Regions from separate parts of the Homo sapiens genome. Here region 1 is linked to region 2. Evidence: promoter capture Hi-C in human tissues and cell types (Jung and others, 2019). All regions are on one chromosome and are shown on one strand. Each heading gives the region's core, a stretch centred on a gene start or on the middle of the fragment in contact. The rest is flanking DNA. Distances are from core to core; before and after follow the strand shown.

Region 1 (3,680 bases), core at 1,000-3,499, 410 kb after region 2:
TCAAAAAAGTAGAAAGATTCAAAAATGCCCATTCCATTTTTTTCTCTTCAGACTTGGTGTTAGTGAGAATTTTCAGGATTTTGCTGCTTTAGCAACGTAGTTTCTGGAGTAAACAGCTAAATGGTGCTGGATCACCTCGTTTTGCTCTGGAATCTTCATTTTTTTTCTTGTCTGTCTTACTGAACAGCTTACAGTTTCTTGGAGATCCCATGCTCTCCTGCTGTGCACATGCCCCTCGTTCTCGGACGTGTGGGGAGATGGGGCTGACCTGGTCCCCTCTTACTCAGCCCTCAAGACTCAGTTTATTGGCCGGCCACATCTTCCAAGAAGTCTTTTCCAGTGATTTCTTGCCACTGCCCAGACAAACAGAGGAACTGCCCCCACTGGCTCTGTGTTCCTGATGTACATCATACATGCCACTCCTTGAATTATAAGCATACTCAATTTATAATTTATTTTTCTATTTTCTTTTTTTTTTTTTTTTTCGAGATGGAGTTTTGCTCTTGTTACCCAGGCTAGTGTGCAATGGTGCGATCTCAGCTCACTGCAACCTCCGCCTCCCAGGTTCAAGCAATTCTCCTGCCTCAGCCTCCCGAGTAGCTGGGGTTACAGGGATCTGCCACCATGCCTGGCTAATTTTTATATTTTTTAGTAGAGACGGGGCTTAACCATGTTGGCCAGGCTTGTCTCAAACTCCTGACCTCAGGTGATCCACTGGCCTCACCTTCTGAGAGTGCTGGGATTACAGGCGTGAGCCACCGTGCCCGGCCTATTTTTCTATTTTCCTTTGAGTTCTTTATTACTGTGAGTTCTTTAAGGCAAGAAAAACGTCTTATTTATTTCTCTATCTTGAAGGTTCAGCTCACTAGCTGACTTATAGTAGGGGAAAAAGGAAGGAAGCTAAGGTTTATTGAAGGACTAGTATTTAACAGCACTGTTTAGATGCTTTAGATATTACTATATCTGACCGGGCGCGGTGGCTCACGCCTGTAATCCCAGCACTTTGGGAGGCCAAGGTGAGTGGATCACCTGAGGTCAGGAGTTCGAGACCAGCCTGGGCAACATGGTGAAACACCTTTTCTACTAAAAATACAAAAATTAGCCAGGTGTGGTGATGCATACCTGTAGTCCCAGCTACTGAGGAGGCTGAGGTAGGAGAATCACTTGAACCCTGGAGGCAGAGGTTGCCGGTGAGCTGAGATCGTGCCACTGTACTCCAGCCTGGGCAACAGAGTGAGAATCCATCTCAAAAACAAAACAAAAAAAAGATACTACTATATCTTACCTAACCTTATAACAATCTTGGGAGGTAGGTACTGATATTCCTGTTTAATAAGGGAGACTTAAACTGAAAAGTTAAATTACTTTCTGAGGTTATACACTTGCTGAGTTATAGTTAGGATCTGCCTTCACGTCCTCCTGACCCCCAAGCTTACCACCATATTCATTAAGTACTTGTGGATTGAATGTTTATGTCCATTTCTGGGCAAATTTGTCTTCAATAAGTAATTTTACTACATATTTGCTTATAAATAACCTTATTTTTTCTTTCTAGAAATGGGATTTGACCGATACAAAATGGTGGTGCAAGTAGTGATTGGAGAACAAAGAGGTGAAGGAGTATTGTGAGTAGCTGGATTTTCCTTCTTGTTTTAGTCATCTATATTTCTTATGAGGTATCTGTCCTTTGGACAATTCAGTAAGAGTGCCTTTACAAGAGTGAGAAGGGCCGGGTGTGATGGGTCACACCTGTAATCTCAGCACTTTGGGAGGCTGAGGCGGGTGGATCACCTGAGGTCAGGAGTTCAAGACCAGCCTGGCCAACATGGCGAAACCCCGTCTCTACTAAAAATTAGCCGGGTGTGATGGCGTGCGCTTGTAGTCCCAGCTACTCAGGAGGCTGAGGCAGGAGAATCACTTCAACGCAGGAGGTGGAGGTTGCAGTGAGCCAAGATCGTGTCATTGCACTCCAGCCTGGGTGACAGAGTAAGACTCTGTCTCAAAAATAAATAAATAAAATATCTTTATTATCTCTAAAATATTGTCAGTCCTTAATATCATAAAATATGCTGTTATTATTCAGATATGCCTCATATATGTATGTATGTGTTTTCTTTCTTTTCTTTTTTTTTTGTTTAAAGAGACAGGGTCTCATTTTGTCACCCAGGTTGGTGTGCAATGGCACTATCACAACTCACTGCAGCCTTGGCCTCCTGGGCTCAAGTGATCCTCCTGCCTCAGCCTCCTGAGTAGCTGGGACTGCAGGTGTGCACCACCACACCTGGCTAATTTTCTTTCTTTCTTTTTTTTTTTTTTTTTTGCAGAGATGGGTCACACTCTGTTGGCCAGTCTGGTCTTAAACTCCTGGGCTCAGGCAATTCACCAGCCTTGGCCTCCTAAAGTGGTGGACTTATAGGCTTGAACCACCATGCCAGACCTATTATTTTCTTTTTACAATTTTTTCAAATTAAGATTCAAACAAGGTCCACACATTGCATTTGGTTAATATGTAAATTAGGATTTTTTTTTAAGACGTAAGATCTTGCTATCTTGCCCAGGCTGGAGTGCAGTGGCTATTCACAGATGTGATCATAACACACTACAGACTAGAACTCCTGGGCTCAAGTGATCCTCCCACCTCAGCCTGCCAGGTAGCTGGGACTATAGGTGCACACCACAGCATCTGGCTTTAAATTTACTTCAATGTGTTGTTTTTGCTGCCTCATTTCTCTCTTTCTTCTTTTAATCCTGCCATTTGATTTTATTTTTATGACAGTCTTGCTTCCTCACCCAGGCTGGAGTGCAGTGGCATGATCTCGGCTCACTGCAACCTCTGCCTGCCGGGTTCAAGTGATTCTCCTGCCTCAGCCTCCTGAGTAGCTGGGATTACAGGCGCTCACCACCACGCCCAGGTAATTTTTGTATTTTTAGTAGAGATGGGGTTTCACCATGTTGGCCAGGTTGGTCTCCAACTCCTGACCTCAGGTGATCCACCCACCTTGGCCTCCCAAAGTGCTGGGATTGCAGGCGTGAGCCACTGTGCCCTGTCAGTTATTTATTTATTTATTTTTTCCTGCCATTTATTTGTTGAAGAAATTGGTTTGTTTGTCCTGTAGAGTTTCCTATATTCTGGCAGTTGCTGATTATATACCTATGGTATTGTTTAATATGTCTTCTATTTCCTGTACTTCTTGAAAATAAGTAGTTAGATCTAGTCTTAATTAGCCATAGGTTTGAGGTTGGGGAAATACTGTTTTCTATACATCCTATTGCATCTTCTCAGAAGGTACAAAATAGCTGGTCATCTCTTTTTGCTTTGTTAAGGTTGATCATGGAGTTCAGATATTGTCAGATGGATCCATCTATTATAAAGTTTCCCATCAGGGCCGGGCGTGGTGGCTCACACCTGTAATCCCAGCACTTTGGGAAGCTGAGGCAGGAGGATCACTTGAGCCCAGGAGTTCCAGACCAGCCTGGGCAACACAGCAAAACTCTGTCTCTACAAAAAAATACAAAAATTAGCCGGGCATGGTGGCACACGCCTGTGGTCCCAGCTACTTGAGAGACTGAGGTGGGAGGACCTCTTGAGCCCAGGAAGGTTGAGACTGCAGTAAGCCGTGATTGTGCCACTGTACTCCAGCCTGGGTGACAGAGTGAGACCCTGCCTCAGATAGGTAGGT
Region 2 (3,889 bases), core at 292-2,791:
ATCTCGGCTCACTGCAACCTCCGCCTCCCTAGTTCAAGCGATTCTCCTGCCTTAGCCCCCTGAGTAGCTGGGACTACAGGGGCACGCCATCACGCCCCGCTAATTTTGACCCCTTTTCAATTATAAAATGCTAACGTTGGAAGCCTCTACAGATTACCAAATCCAACTGTTTAAAAATTCTTCTGGCCGAGCATGGTAGTTCACACCTGTAATCCTGGCACTTTGGGAGGCTGAGGAGGGTGGACCACCTGAGGTCAGGAGTTCAAGACCAGCTTGACCAATACGGCGAAACCCCGTCTCTACTAAAAATACAAAAAATTAGCTGGGCATGGTGGCGGGCACCTGTAATAATCCCAGCTACTTGGGAGGCTGAAGCAGAAGAATTGCTTGAACTTGGGAAAGGCGGAGGTTGCAGTGAGCCGAGATCGCGCCATTGCACTCCAGCCTGGCAACAGAGTGAGACTCCATCTCAAAAAAAAAATCTTCTTGGCCTCATAATCCTTTGTTTAGATAAACTTGAAAACCCAATATGTAAACACACAAGCAGAACTGCACTGATTGACAGATACTAAACGGATCTAAATGATACCAAGGATGACAGAAACATCCTCATTTTACAGATGGAGAAACTTGTAGGGTTTGTGCTTTCCTCCCATCAAACCTTACCCTTTATTGTAATTATTCCCGCACTTGCCCGTCTCAGTAGTACAAGCAGTTTGCCAACTACTACTTGCACGAACAACTAGCAGTTTGCCACGGAGTCCTACATTCAGTTTGGGGATTCTCAGGCCTCACAGGGCGCTAAGGCCTTGCCTGGCCCCTTGGTGATCAGAAGCTTCGTGCAGCTCAAGAGCATCCCAAGACGCTTGACGGCTGACTTTCCTTCTCAGAACTTTAGTAACAGGGCGGCCAGTCCAGCCTGGGAACCGCAGGGCCCGAGCCCGACTCTCCCGGAGACCCGGGATCCGCCGCAGAGCAAAGCGCACGGGAGGGAAGGAGGGCACACGGCTCTAGTGTCTGACCTCCTCCGGCTCGCCCTACTGATCTAGGTCCCGCGCCGGGTCCCCACATCCCCGCAACCCGCCGAGAGGCCCGGGAGCCGGGACCGCTCCCACGCTCTGGCCCCCCAAGCCCCGCCCCCCTTACCGGCGTCAGAGCGCGCGGCGGTGAAGGCCGCGGCGGGCCCGCGCGTGAGCCCGGTCGCCGCCCCGAGGAGCAGCCAGGCGGCCGCCCGAACCGCCGCCACCCGAGCCGCCAGGACGCCGGAAGCCGGACGCCCGAGAGGGGCGCGCGGGGCCAGGTGCGGACGCAGGAAGGGGCCTGGCCGCCCGCAGCTCCTACCGCGCGCTGCCCCAGATTTATCGGCTGGGACCGAGTGCTGGGTGCGCGCGCCTAGCGCCCGCGGTTCCCAGCTGCCTGCAGCCCCGGCCCCCAAGGGTTCCCGCGCGGCGTGGGGCGGTCGTCCCCGCCCAGCTGTTCCTTGCTCCGCCCACCCGGGGGCGGGCGAGGAGCTGCGCACGCGCGGGGACGCGCGCCCGGCCTGTCGCTGTGGAAACCGCTAGGCCAGCGCTCGCCGGGACCTGGAATCCCTGTACGCCGAGGTGGGAGCCGGTGGACCGGTCCCCCAGCCGGCCCCCACCTCCGCTTCCCGGTGTTTGAGGGTTCGGGCCTCCCGCCGGGGAGTTCACCCCTCGGGCTCGTCAGTAGGGCTGTGGCTGTCGCCTCTTCCTGCAGCGCCAGGCTCCGCCCGGTCTCACAGTCGGCTTAGGGGCTTTGCGTGCACTGCGGTTGGGTGGAAAAACCCACTCCTGGTTGTTTAGACGTTGGCCTGCAGACGATGTCATTTCTGTATTCCTCTAAGGGTAAGAAAGCCAGCCTTGCACTAGTGGAGACGTGAGTAGGGAGAGAATCGTCTACTCTTTGGGGACATTCGTACCCTTAGGTGCTGTGGGGCTTCCTAACAAGATTGTGGGCAGTTACTGATCTCTGGGGAGAGGAGTATTCGTGTCCAGGAAGAATAATTGGATAAACGTGCCGTCCTTCTTCCTAAACAGAGTGGAATCTGTAAGCAGGCCAAGAGAGCATCCAGGCGGCTTGGAGTGGAATAGAGGGCTCTAGAGCGGGTGTCTCAAAGAGGAAACAGAGTGTATGTCAAAACATACTATCCAAAACTGAAAATAGCCGGGCAGGTGGCTCACGCCTATAGCCCCAGCACTTTGGGCGAATCACCTGAGGTCAGGAGTTCGAGACCAGCCTGGCCAAGATGGCGAAACCCCGTCTCTACTGAAAATACAAAGATTAGCTGGGCATGGTGGTAGGCACCTGTAATTCCAGCTACTCGGGAGGCTGAGGCACGAGAATCGCTTGAACCCAGGAGGCGGAGGTTGCAGCGAGGGGAGATCACGCCACTGCACTGCAGCCTAGGCGACAGAGGGAGACTCTGTTTCAAAAGAAAAAAAAAAACTGAAAATGGTAGTATAAGCATGTTTCTTAAGAAATGGAGAGAGAAATTTTGGAAGATATGCCTTTTAAAATTCAGTCTGGCTCCCTATGAAGAGGAGTAGGGCCAAGGACGATAGTTTGTTGTTATAAGCCTCATAGAATTATTTTATATTCCAAATACAAACATTACTTTAGCAAAAATTAAAGTTAAATTTTAAAAAGAGTCTAGTAAAAAAAAAACTACATTATTTGAGTACCAACTGCATACATCTTTGACGAGTACAGCCATTGCTTCAGTGTGTGGAGTTTATATGTGCCCCGTAGGTTGTAGTTTACTAACATCAAATTTTAGTTAGGTGAATTGGGAATAGTATTCGTTAAAAAAAAAAAAAAAGCAAGAAAAGAGAAGGAAAAGAAGGAGAAATGGTGTGAGCTCATTGCATCAGATTAGAGGTAGAGCACAGTAATTTTTTAAAGTAGTTTTTTTTTTTTTTTTTTTTTTTTTTAAGAATAGGCGTATCATGCTTTGGAGAGGCTGTTGTGCAGTGGCACCATCTCAACTCACTGCAGCCCCAAACTCCTGGGTTCAGGCGATTCTCCCACCTTGGCCTTTGGTGTGGCTGGGACTACAGGTGCATGCTGCCATGCCTGGCCAATTTTTAAATTTTTTGTAGAGACATGCATGGTCTCGCTGTGTTGCCCAGGCTGGTCTCAAACTCCTGGCCTCAAGGTATCTCCTCTCCTTGGCCTCCCAAAGTGTTGGGATTACAGGCCTGAGCCACCACACCTGCCTCCATCTTTTTGAGATGGAGTCTTGCTCTTGTCACCCATGCTGGAGTGCAGTGGTACCATCTCAGCTCACTGCAACCTCCGCCTCCCAGGTTCAAGTGATTCTCCTGCCTTGGCCTCTCGAGTAGCTGGGATTACAGGCACCTGCCACTATGTCCAGCTAATTTTTGTATTTTTAGTACAGACGTGGTTTTCACCATGTTGGCCAGGCTGGTCTCGAACTCCTGACCTCAAATGATCTGCCCACCTTGACCTCCCAAAGTGCTGGCTGGGGTGAGCCACTGTGCCTGGGCTTATATGTGATTAATTTTCTAAGAGTAAAAATTCTCATGCCCAACAATAAGTGGTGAATAATATGATTATAGTACATCCATAAAATAAAACATTTAGCAGTCATATAAAATGTTACATTGTAGTAAAACATTTGATGACAAAATAATAATATATGTTGTTAAATTTGAACGTCAGGAAATAGCTTGTATGATAAGGTATGTATGAAACATACTATAAACTATATGCCTAGAAAAAAGACTGGACACAATCAAGGGTGATTATTTTCTATAGGTTTCCCCTCTCCTTTGCCCCCAGTATTCTACAATGACGTGTATAATCACTGCTAAGTATTTAATAAAAAGTATGTTCCTAATAGTGATTCTCC

Evidence for each region. Contacts are between HindIII fragments. The study calls those that stand out against the background at their distance.
Region 1: a contact is called between a fragment that was not itself captured here and the fragment with the promoter of CEP19 in region 2, in 3 of the 25 tissues and cell types used here (IMR-90 fibroblasts, bladder and small bowel).

Annotation. Positions count from the first base shown.
Region 1 is chr3:196,304,888-196,308,567 of GRCh38, reverse strand. It overlaps DYNLT2B (dynein light chain Tctex-type 2B), which reads left to right. Exons shown (of 5, transcript NM_152773.5): 3 at 1,556-1,625. Among named protein-coding and RNA genes, the nearest start is that of DYNLT2B, 12 kb to the left of the region's middle. The HindIII fragment of the contact is 6,550 bases long and covers 1-3,680 here.
Region 2 is chr3:196,709,902-196,713,790 of GRCh38, reverse strand. CEP19 (centrosomal protein 19) reads left to right here and starts at 1,541. Exons shown (of 3, transcript NM_032898.5): 1 at 1,541-1,862. It overlaps PIGX (phosphatidylinositol glycan anchor biosynthesis class X), which reads right to left and starts at 1,414. Exons shown (of 6, transcript NM_017861.4): 1 at 1,147-1,414. The coding sequence starts at 1,258. RefSeq lists silencers at 1,015-1,644, 1,479-1,791. The HindIII fragment of the contact is 13,108 bases long and covers 1-3,889 here.